Regions from separate parts of the Homo sapiens genome. Here region 2 is linked to region 1. Evidence: promoter capture Hi-C in 16 types of primary human blood cells and fetal thymus (Javierre and others, 2016). All regions are on one chromosome and are shown on one strand. Each heading gives the region's core, a stretch centred on a gene start or on the middle of the fragment in contact. The rest is flanking DNA. Distances are from core to core; before and after follow the strand shown.

Evidence for each region. Contacts are between HindIII fragments. The CHiCAGO score rates a contact against its expected background, and 5 or more counts as called.
Region 2: a contact is called between a fragment that was not itself captured here and the fragment with the promoter of OR10J1 in region 1, in 1 of 17 cell types (neutrophils). The highest score is 6.3, in neutrophils.

What each region holds. Positions count from the first base shown.
Region 1 is chr1:159,437,951-159,441,937 of GRCh38, reverse strand. It overlaps OR10J1 (olfactory receptor family 10 subfamily J member 1), which reads right to left and starts at 2,216. Exons shown (of 1, transcript NM_012351.3): 1 at 971-2,216. The coding sequence starts at 2,146. The coding sequence ends at 1,217. The HindIII fragment of the contact is 2,085 bases long and covers 1,069-3,153 here.
Region 2 is chr1:159,989,011-159,992,997 of GRCh38, reverse strand. No RefSeq gene overlaps it. Among named protein-coding and RNA genes, the nearest start is that of LINC01133, 30 kb to the right of the region's middle. The HindIII fragment of the contact is 2,876 bases long and covers 875-3,750 here.

The DNA.
Region 1 (3,987 bases), core at 967-3,466:
ACAGAGCAAGACTCTGTTTTTTTTAAAAAAAAGTTAAAGCTGAAATTCCTTAATTTGGCATATGAGGCCTTCAGAATATGACCCCAACCTACCCTTCTGGTTTTATCTCCTTCAATCCCCACCTCTTCCATGTCCTGGAGTCAGCACAACTGAATCATTTTTCGTTACCTGATCAGTCCTTTTGCTTTCATACCTGTAGCTACATTGTTTCTTCTCTTTGGAATTCTTTCTTATCATTCAGACAATCTCTTGTGTTTTAAAAACAGTTTGCATCACAGGTCCCCTCCTCTTAAGACTTCCCTAACATCTCCAACAGTCTCTCTCTCTTCCCCTTTCCTTTTCTTTCTTTTTCTGAGTTCTTCTTTAATTGTGTGTAAACACCACTTACCATAAAGAACTGAAACCATACTGTCAAATGCTTGTTTTTACCACTAGGCTTGTAGCTTCCTGAAGCCAGACAAGAAAGCTTTTTTAATCTTTATTTCTCCAGGACCTAGCACAGAGGCTAGTTCATAGCTCTTGCCCATTATGTGTTTTCTGATTTAGCCAAATTTGAAAGGATCCAGGAGTATCTCAGATTATGCCCTCAAAACACTGTCATGATGACTGTAGAATTGCCAGCATCTCTAATTAAACTGTGTATGCTCACCATCTTTAATAAGCAGTTTTGCTAGAATCTGGGATAAATTAACACATCCAGGAGAGAACATCTATTTCTCCTGGGCTATCTAATCCTGAGGCCACTTTCCCTCCCCACACAGTAACTTATTACTTGACATGTCATAAACATACTCCAATAGGGAATCCAGTTTCAGAAGCCCTGGTGCTCTAGTATAGGAAGAAAGGGATTATAGGAAAAAGATTTTAAGTGTGTCTTGGATTCTATTTTCTCAAGGGGCTTTCTATTGCCTTCATTAGGTGGAGATTCACAAAGAAACCAAAAGGTCAGTAAAAAATTCTCAGCCCATACTACTTTCTGGCCTTTTATTTAGGCATATCTTATCCTTGTTTGTCTATTTATCCCCAAAAATAGGGATAACACTCCATCCAGTAACTTTATTTAAAGCTTCAGACTCCCAGTTGTATGAAACTGCTATTCCTCTTTTGCCTCTTATTTAAGGGGCAGGTCTCTAGGAGCCAAGTGTTTGTGAGTTTACACCTCATATTCCTGCCTAGTGTGGATGTTGACAGCCTCAGGAGAACTCTTCCTACATGGTCAGGAAAACTTCCCACCAACAGCCCTGCACAGAGCATCTTTGACCTCTTTATTTCTCAGGGTGTATACCACAGGGTTCAGTAGGGGAGTGATGACAGTGTAGGTCACCGAGATCAGCTGGTCATGTTCTCTGGTGTTCTCTGACTTGGGCTTGAGGTAGGCAATGGAGGCACAGCTGTAGTGGACAATGACCACAGTGAGGTGGGATGCACAGGTGGCAAAAGCCTTCTTCCGGCCCTCAACTGAAGCAATCTTGAGGATTGTAGAGATAATGAGAACATAAGAAATGAAAACCAGACCCATAGGTACAACAAGCACCAGCACACTGATAATCAAAGTCAGGATTTCATTGACAGTGGTGTCAATGCAGGAGAGCTTCATCACAGGGCGGATGTCACAGAAGAAGTGGGGCACCTTTCTAGCACAGAAGGGTAACCTGAATACAGATGTCACTTGCGTTATTGCTACAATCAGCCCAATGCTGCAGGCCCCCAGGACAAGTTGGATACGCAGCCTCTTGTTCATAATAACCATGTATCTCAGGGGGTTGCAGATGGCCACATAGCGGTCATATCCCATTGCTGTGAGCAGGAAGCAGTTAGTGATGCCAAAGGTTACAAAAAAGAACATCTGTGTGGCACACCCTGCCAATGATATGGGCTGGCTCATACCTACGAGGCTGGAGAGCATTCTTGGGAGAATGACCAATGTATATACAGTCTCTGAAGTGGACAGCATGCTCAGGAAGAAGTACATGGGTGTGTGAAGATGAAGATCCATTCGGATGATGGTCACAATGATGATATTGCCTGCTAAGGTTAAGATGTATAGTGCAAGGAACACGCCAAAAAGGGTGATCTGCTGCTCATGGAAGCTAGAGAAACCTTGGAAAACAAAGTCAGTGATGAGAGTAAAGTTCTCTCTTTTCATGGATTGGTTCCCAAATCTGAAACATAAAAGCATAAAAGTCACATAGTCCCAGTAAAGCAGTAGAAGCACATTTCTGAAATTGATTGAAGTTCAATAGTTCTCAGTTACAAATCTGGTGATGTATTTCCTAGTGGATTAAGTTAATCCCTGGGTTTACTTATCTTTACTTAAAATATTTTTACTCTGTGACCATCTGTTATAATTTTCCATGCATCATAGAATCATATAGTCTCACTTTTTCACTGTATAACCATACATGCTCCTACTTCATATCTACTCTTCCTCCCTGACATCTGGAATGGCTTCTCTTTTCTCCTCTTATTTCTTTCCTACTCTTCAGAGATGAGTGCACATTTTCAGGCCTTCATAAAACCGTATTACACTCAGAGGTTCTCATGTTTATTTGGATTATTTTTACCCCATTATTGCTGCCTCACCTCATACAAACACTTAGCAACTTTATAATACCTTTTACATCTTTTCATATTTCACTAGCTCCAAATTATGCATGGATTGGGTGCTTGAAAATAATTTGTTTAGGGATGGACTAGTGATGTCTTTTCTTTCAAGACTATGAATCATCCTCCTTGCGCATCCTTTAAGAATTAGAAGCAAAGTAGAAAGGTTCATCTTGTCTTCAAGAAGAAAAAGGAAAATCTTAGCCAACCACCAGCCTCTCCCCACTTCTGTCTGAGTGATGGAAGTCTGCTGACAGTTCAGAGCACTGATTCACGTATGTTATAAACTATGCTACATCTTTACCTTCCCTAAACTAGAAGGCAAATTTATAGCCAATACAACTTTGTGAGTAAGCCTACACCCACTCTGCAGAGATAAACAATTGTATCAGGAAAGATACAGCAAATTTAAGTGTCCCTCACCTAAAGCAAAAGCAAACCCTGAATATAAAAAAACAGCTACACCAAAGATACATCATTTTGTTGAAGGAAGGGGATCAGTTCAATTTATGTAATATTTCACATTTTTATCTCTTTAAACAGTAAGCTTCTCTAGGGTATTTAAATTATATTCTGATTTGCTTATGCATATTCAGAAAGAGAAGTTTTGCATAAAGTAAATCACATCAATGATGAAGGTTAGTACGCACGGAGACTTTCTTCAAGTTCATAAAAATCTATTTAAAAGAAGTTGATGACCAGCTGTTAATCATTTACACTAAGAATGCTAAAAAGAAAGTAAAGCTGCAATAGAGAATATTTTCCAATAAAGAAAATCATTTGATACTAAAATATATGTCTAAAGACATTTGTCTTCTGTGAGGCTTCTGAGCAAAAACTATGTAGTAGTCCAGCCACGGAGTGGTATGGTGCCTCTATGGTGAAATCAGAAATGCTTGGCAGAGCTTTTAACTGTTACAATAATGAGCACAGAAGCTCTTGGCCATTCACGATGTGAAATGTCCTGCAAAACTTGTGGTGATTCTGCCCAAGGAAGAATTCCCTTCTTCCAAATACCAATAAAGTTCCCATTGAGAAACACACGGCTAAAATATCATCTTATCTGGCTGAAACTTGTCTGTCTTGAGGTAGAAGAATGGCTATTATGATTTGGTTAGCATCCTCCCCACTCTTGGAAGTCTATAATTCTTCAAAGGAAATGGAAGGAAGAGCAAATATAGCTTATGAAGACCTGTCCAGCTGTGATAGGACCTGAAATACTACAATAAATTAAAGTCAGCTCATATGTAATGAGCCCCATTTCAGTCCTTCTTCTAAAGACCACTCACATGACTCTGCTTAGCACTGAGGCACAACGGGAAAGCTGGGCTGGAGGAGGCCGAGGAGTAAAGATTGAAATGTCAGGCTCCCTTGGCCACAATG
Region 2 (3,987 bases), core at 1,063-3,562, 550 kb before region 1:
ACGGAGTTTCACTCTTGTTGCCCAGGCTGGAGTGCAGTGGTGTGATCTCCGCTCACTGCAACCTCTGCCTCCCGGGTTCAAGTGATTCTCCTGCTTCAGCCTCCTGAGTAGCTGGGATTACAGGCATGCGCTACCATGCCCAGCTAATTTTGTATTTTTACTAGAGATGGGGTTTTTTCATGTTGGTCAGGCTGGTCTCAAACTCCTGACCTCAGGTGATCCACCCGCCTCTGCCTCCCAAAGTGCTGGAATTACAGGCATGAGCCACCGCGTCCGGCTGATTTTTTTTTTTAATGTTTATTCAGTATATGGCTTGGGTTTCCCTCTGAGAAAAGGATTTGAGTTCAAGTTGTTTTTTGGTTGGTGCAGGAAAATCCTGGTGGGGAGCAGGGAGGAGACACAGGGGTAGAAATGTGGCCCATAGAGGAGGAATTATCCAGCCATCTGCCTCTGTAGGCACTGGGATGTGGTGGGAATATCTGGGGAGTAAAAGCATGCCTCAGAGGGGTTCCACTCCTGAGGTGGCAGAGGGGAGTTATTTATATACAACTCCTGACAGTCACCAGTTGAAGGTTACTGTGTGTGGCGGTGGGTGGTGTCAGGGTGTTAATTCCCTGGCACTTATAGCCTGTCTCAGGCACAGGCAGAAAGGCTGCTTACAGTCTCAGAAAAGGCTGGTAGGCAAAGGAATGCAGACACTGGCATTGGAATTCTTTTGGAAGACACTGAAGTGATGTGGCTCTGAGCATATGGGAGAAGCATGACAGCTTCTGCTATGTACACCTGCTGGGGCTGATTGATCAATTCTGTTCCTTCACAGGTTTCTCATGAGTTTCATCTCTTAACTTTATTACTTTATTCTGTTTCTAAAGCTTAATTTAACATCCCTCTTTTTGACATCTTGAGTTATATGCTTACTTCATATATTCTCATTCTTTCTTATTTGATAATTAAAGCAATTCAGGTTAGTTATGGGGAATCATTGAGAAACCACTTGTAAAAGTGCTTAGCACAGTGTCTGGCAGACAGTAATTGCTCAACAAATGTTCATTACCATTTTCCTCAAACCCTTTGAAGTCACTTCTGTTAAAAGATAAACTTTAGAGAAATTAACATTAGCAGAGCTTAACTGGGCAAATAATGACTTGTGAATCAGGCAGCTTCCCAAACTAGAATAGGATCAGAGTGACTATGGCGCTGCTGTGTGGTGGAGCAATATTTACGAACAGGAAAAGAAAAGTGACTTACAGGAAACAGAAGTGAGGCACAGAAACAGCTGGATTGGTTACAGCTCAGGCATTTAGCTTATTTGAACACAGTTTGAATGGTTGGCAGCCTGTGATTGGCCCAAACTTGATTGGCACAAAAGTAGGCTACAGTCTGTTTATACATCCAGGTAGGTTACAGTTCACGATGTACTGAGAAGCCTTTAGACCGAACTTAAAATAAGTAAGTCTGCAGCTTTAGGCTAAAGTTGATTTTACACTTCTGATTACAGATGTGGATGTCTTCTCTTGATGTTGATATGTGGTATTTTCATTATCATTATTGCCCAAGAGTTCTGTAAATTGCAGTTTTCGTTTCCTGTTTGATCCGTGGATTATTTTGAAGAGTGTTTTCAAACCAAGTAGTTGGACGATTTTTGTTTACACATTTTTTCAATTTCTGGTTTTACTGTATTGTGGTATGCAATGTAGTCATGAAATTTCTGGGCTTGAAATTTATTTAAGGTTTTTAGTGGTTTAATATGTAATCAATTTTAAAAAATTGTTCCATAGACCCTGAAAAAGATTTTTTTTGTTTTTTTTTTCAATATTTACAAAGTGGATCCCAGCAATGACTTTTTTCTGACATTCTACATCTTTTGTTTGTTTACTTGATCTGTTAAGAACTGATGAAATCTCCACAGCAATTGTGTTTTGGTCATTTTCCTCTTATTCAGAAACTAAAGATTTATGACAAACACATCTTCATTGCAGATCTTGATTTTTACTACTTATCCTTTATTTTAATAGTTTAGGACTTTAATTCTTTTTGTATACTATATCTTTTTCTATCTTTTTATTTTTTATTTTTATTTATTTATTTTTGTTTTAGATGTGCCTCTTGTGGACAGTATATGGTTAGATCAAATATGATGATCTTTGTCATTTCATAGAAAAATATAACTTATTTAGATATACTGTGACAACCAATATGTTTGACTTTCTGATGAACTTGTCTGGATTCATTGGAATATATAATAGGAAAAAAAATTTGTTCTTTGTCCTTGGCGCAAAGCTCCTGAAACCTTTGAAATTTCCTGAGCAATAGGAGCATCTTTTGTTATTCATTATGCACCCCTTTCAGCAATCTGTGTTTGTGCTAATGAGGTGACTCTTGGCAGGGTCCCCTAGATCACTTTAAGATGGGAGCTAGTTCTGATCAAGTTCTGATAAAGCTCAGAAGTTTCAGCTCCACCCCCTCCTCATATGGGGAAGGGAGAGGGGCTGGAGATTGAATTTAGTCACCAATGACCAATGATTCCATCAATCATCCCTATGTAATAAAAGCTCCATAAAAACCTTTAAACAATGAGGTTCTGAGTTGGTGAACACGTTCACATACTGGGAGGATGGTGTATCCCAACTCCATGGGGACAGAAGCCCTGTGCTCCGGACCCTCCCGGACCTCATCTTCTGGGCCTGTTCCTTTGGCTCTTCATTTGTATCCTTTATAATAAATCGGTAAATGTAAGTAAAGTGGCCCCTGAGTTCTATGAGTCATTCTAGCAAATTATTGAACCCTGGCAAGGGGTGGGGTGTGGGAAGCCTGACTTTGTAGCCAAGTCAGATGCAAATGTGGGTAGCCTGGAGATCTGATGCTTGTGACTGGCATCAGAAGTGAGGGCAATCCTATGGGACTGTGCCCTTAAGCCTGTGGAGTCTGCCCGCCACTGAGTCTCAGAGTTGAACTGAATTATAGGATACTCAGTTGTTGTAGGAGAATTGGATAATAGGTTGGTGTAGGAAAAAAACACACACTTGGCAAAGATGAAAATCTGTTTTTAGTGTGTGTGTTTGCTAATATTTTAAAAAATATATTTGCTAGTTAGACTATAGGGATTGGACCAGACCAGTTCAGAGATGATTCATGTTGCTTGGGAACAAGCCCTTTATAGCTGCTGCTGCTTTTTGTTTGCAGTAGCTTCTCATGCCCGGGCCCTTCTGCCTGTTTCTCATGAAGGCTGCTGTGCTGCAGAGCCTGTCCAGACCATCCCATGTGGCCTGCTCCTGTGTCCAGCGCTTGTCTCTCAGAGTCTCACTGTGTTGCCCAGGTTGGTCCTTCCTGGGATCAAGGGATCCTCCTGCCTCAGGCTCCCAAATTTCTGGGATTACAGGCACGAACCACTGTGCCTGGTGTATTCCTACAGTATTGTAAAATAACATAGTCCATAGAAATCATGCCCTGTACTGCACTGAAAGAACACTTAGAATTTTCTTTTGCCTAATTCCAAGTCTCAGGTCATTTTAGTGACACAATTTTGCTGTTTTTCGCTCATTATGAATTATTCTTTCTGAGATGGATGGAGATAGAAGATCTGGCTTGAGTCCTTTTGTTGCCATGTTTTACATAGAGGGCCCAAAGAAGCATTCATATTCTTTTGCAGCTACCTCCTGAAAGAGGATTTTCATTTCTCTTGTCAATGGACTATGGGCAGGTTCAATATGGTCTTGGCTAAACTAGATGTCTTAAAGTGTAAAAGAAGCTTCTCCAAAATTTATCACAAATGTCTTATTAATTTAAAAATGCAAACACAAAATCTCAAATAAGGAATTACATTATATGCTTGTTTAACTTAAGCAAACCCAACTATGTATTGAGCAAGGGAACACTGTACTATTATTATTATTATTATTATTATTTTTTGAGATGGAGTCTCTATTGCCCAGGCTGGAGTGCAGTGGCACAATGTTGGCTCACTGCAACCTCTGCCTCCCAGGTTCA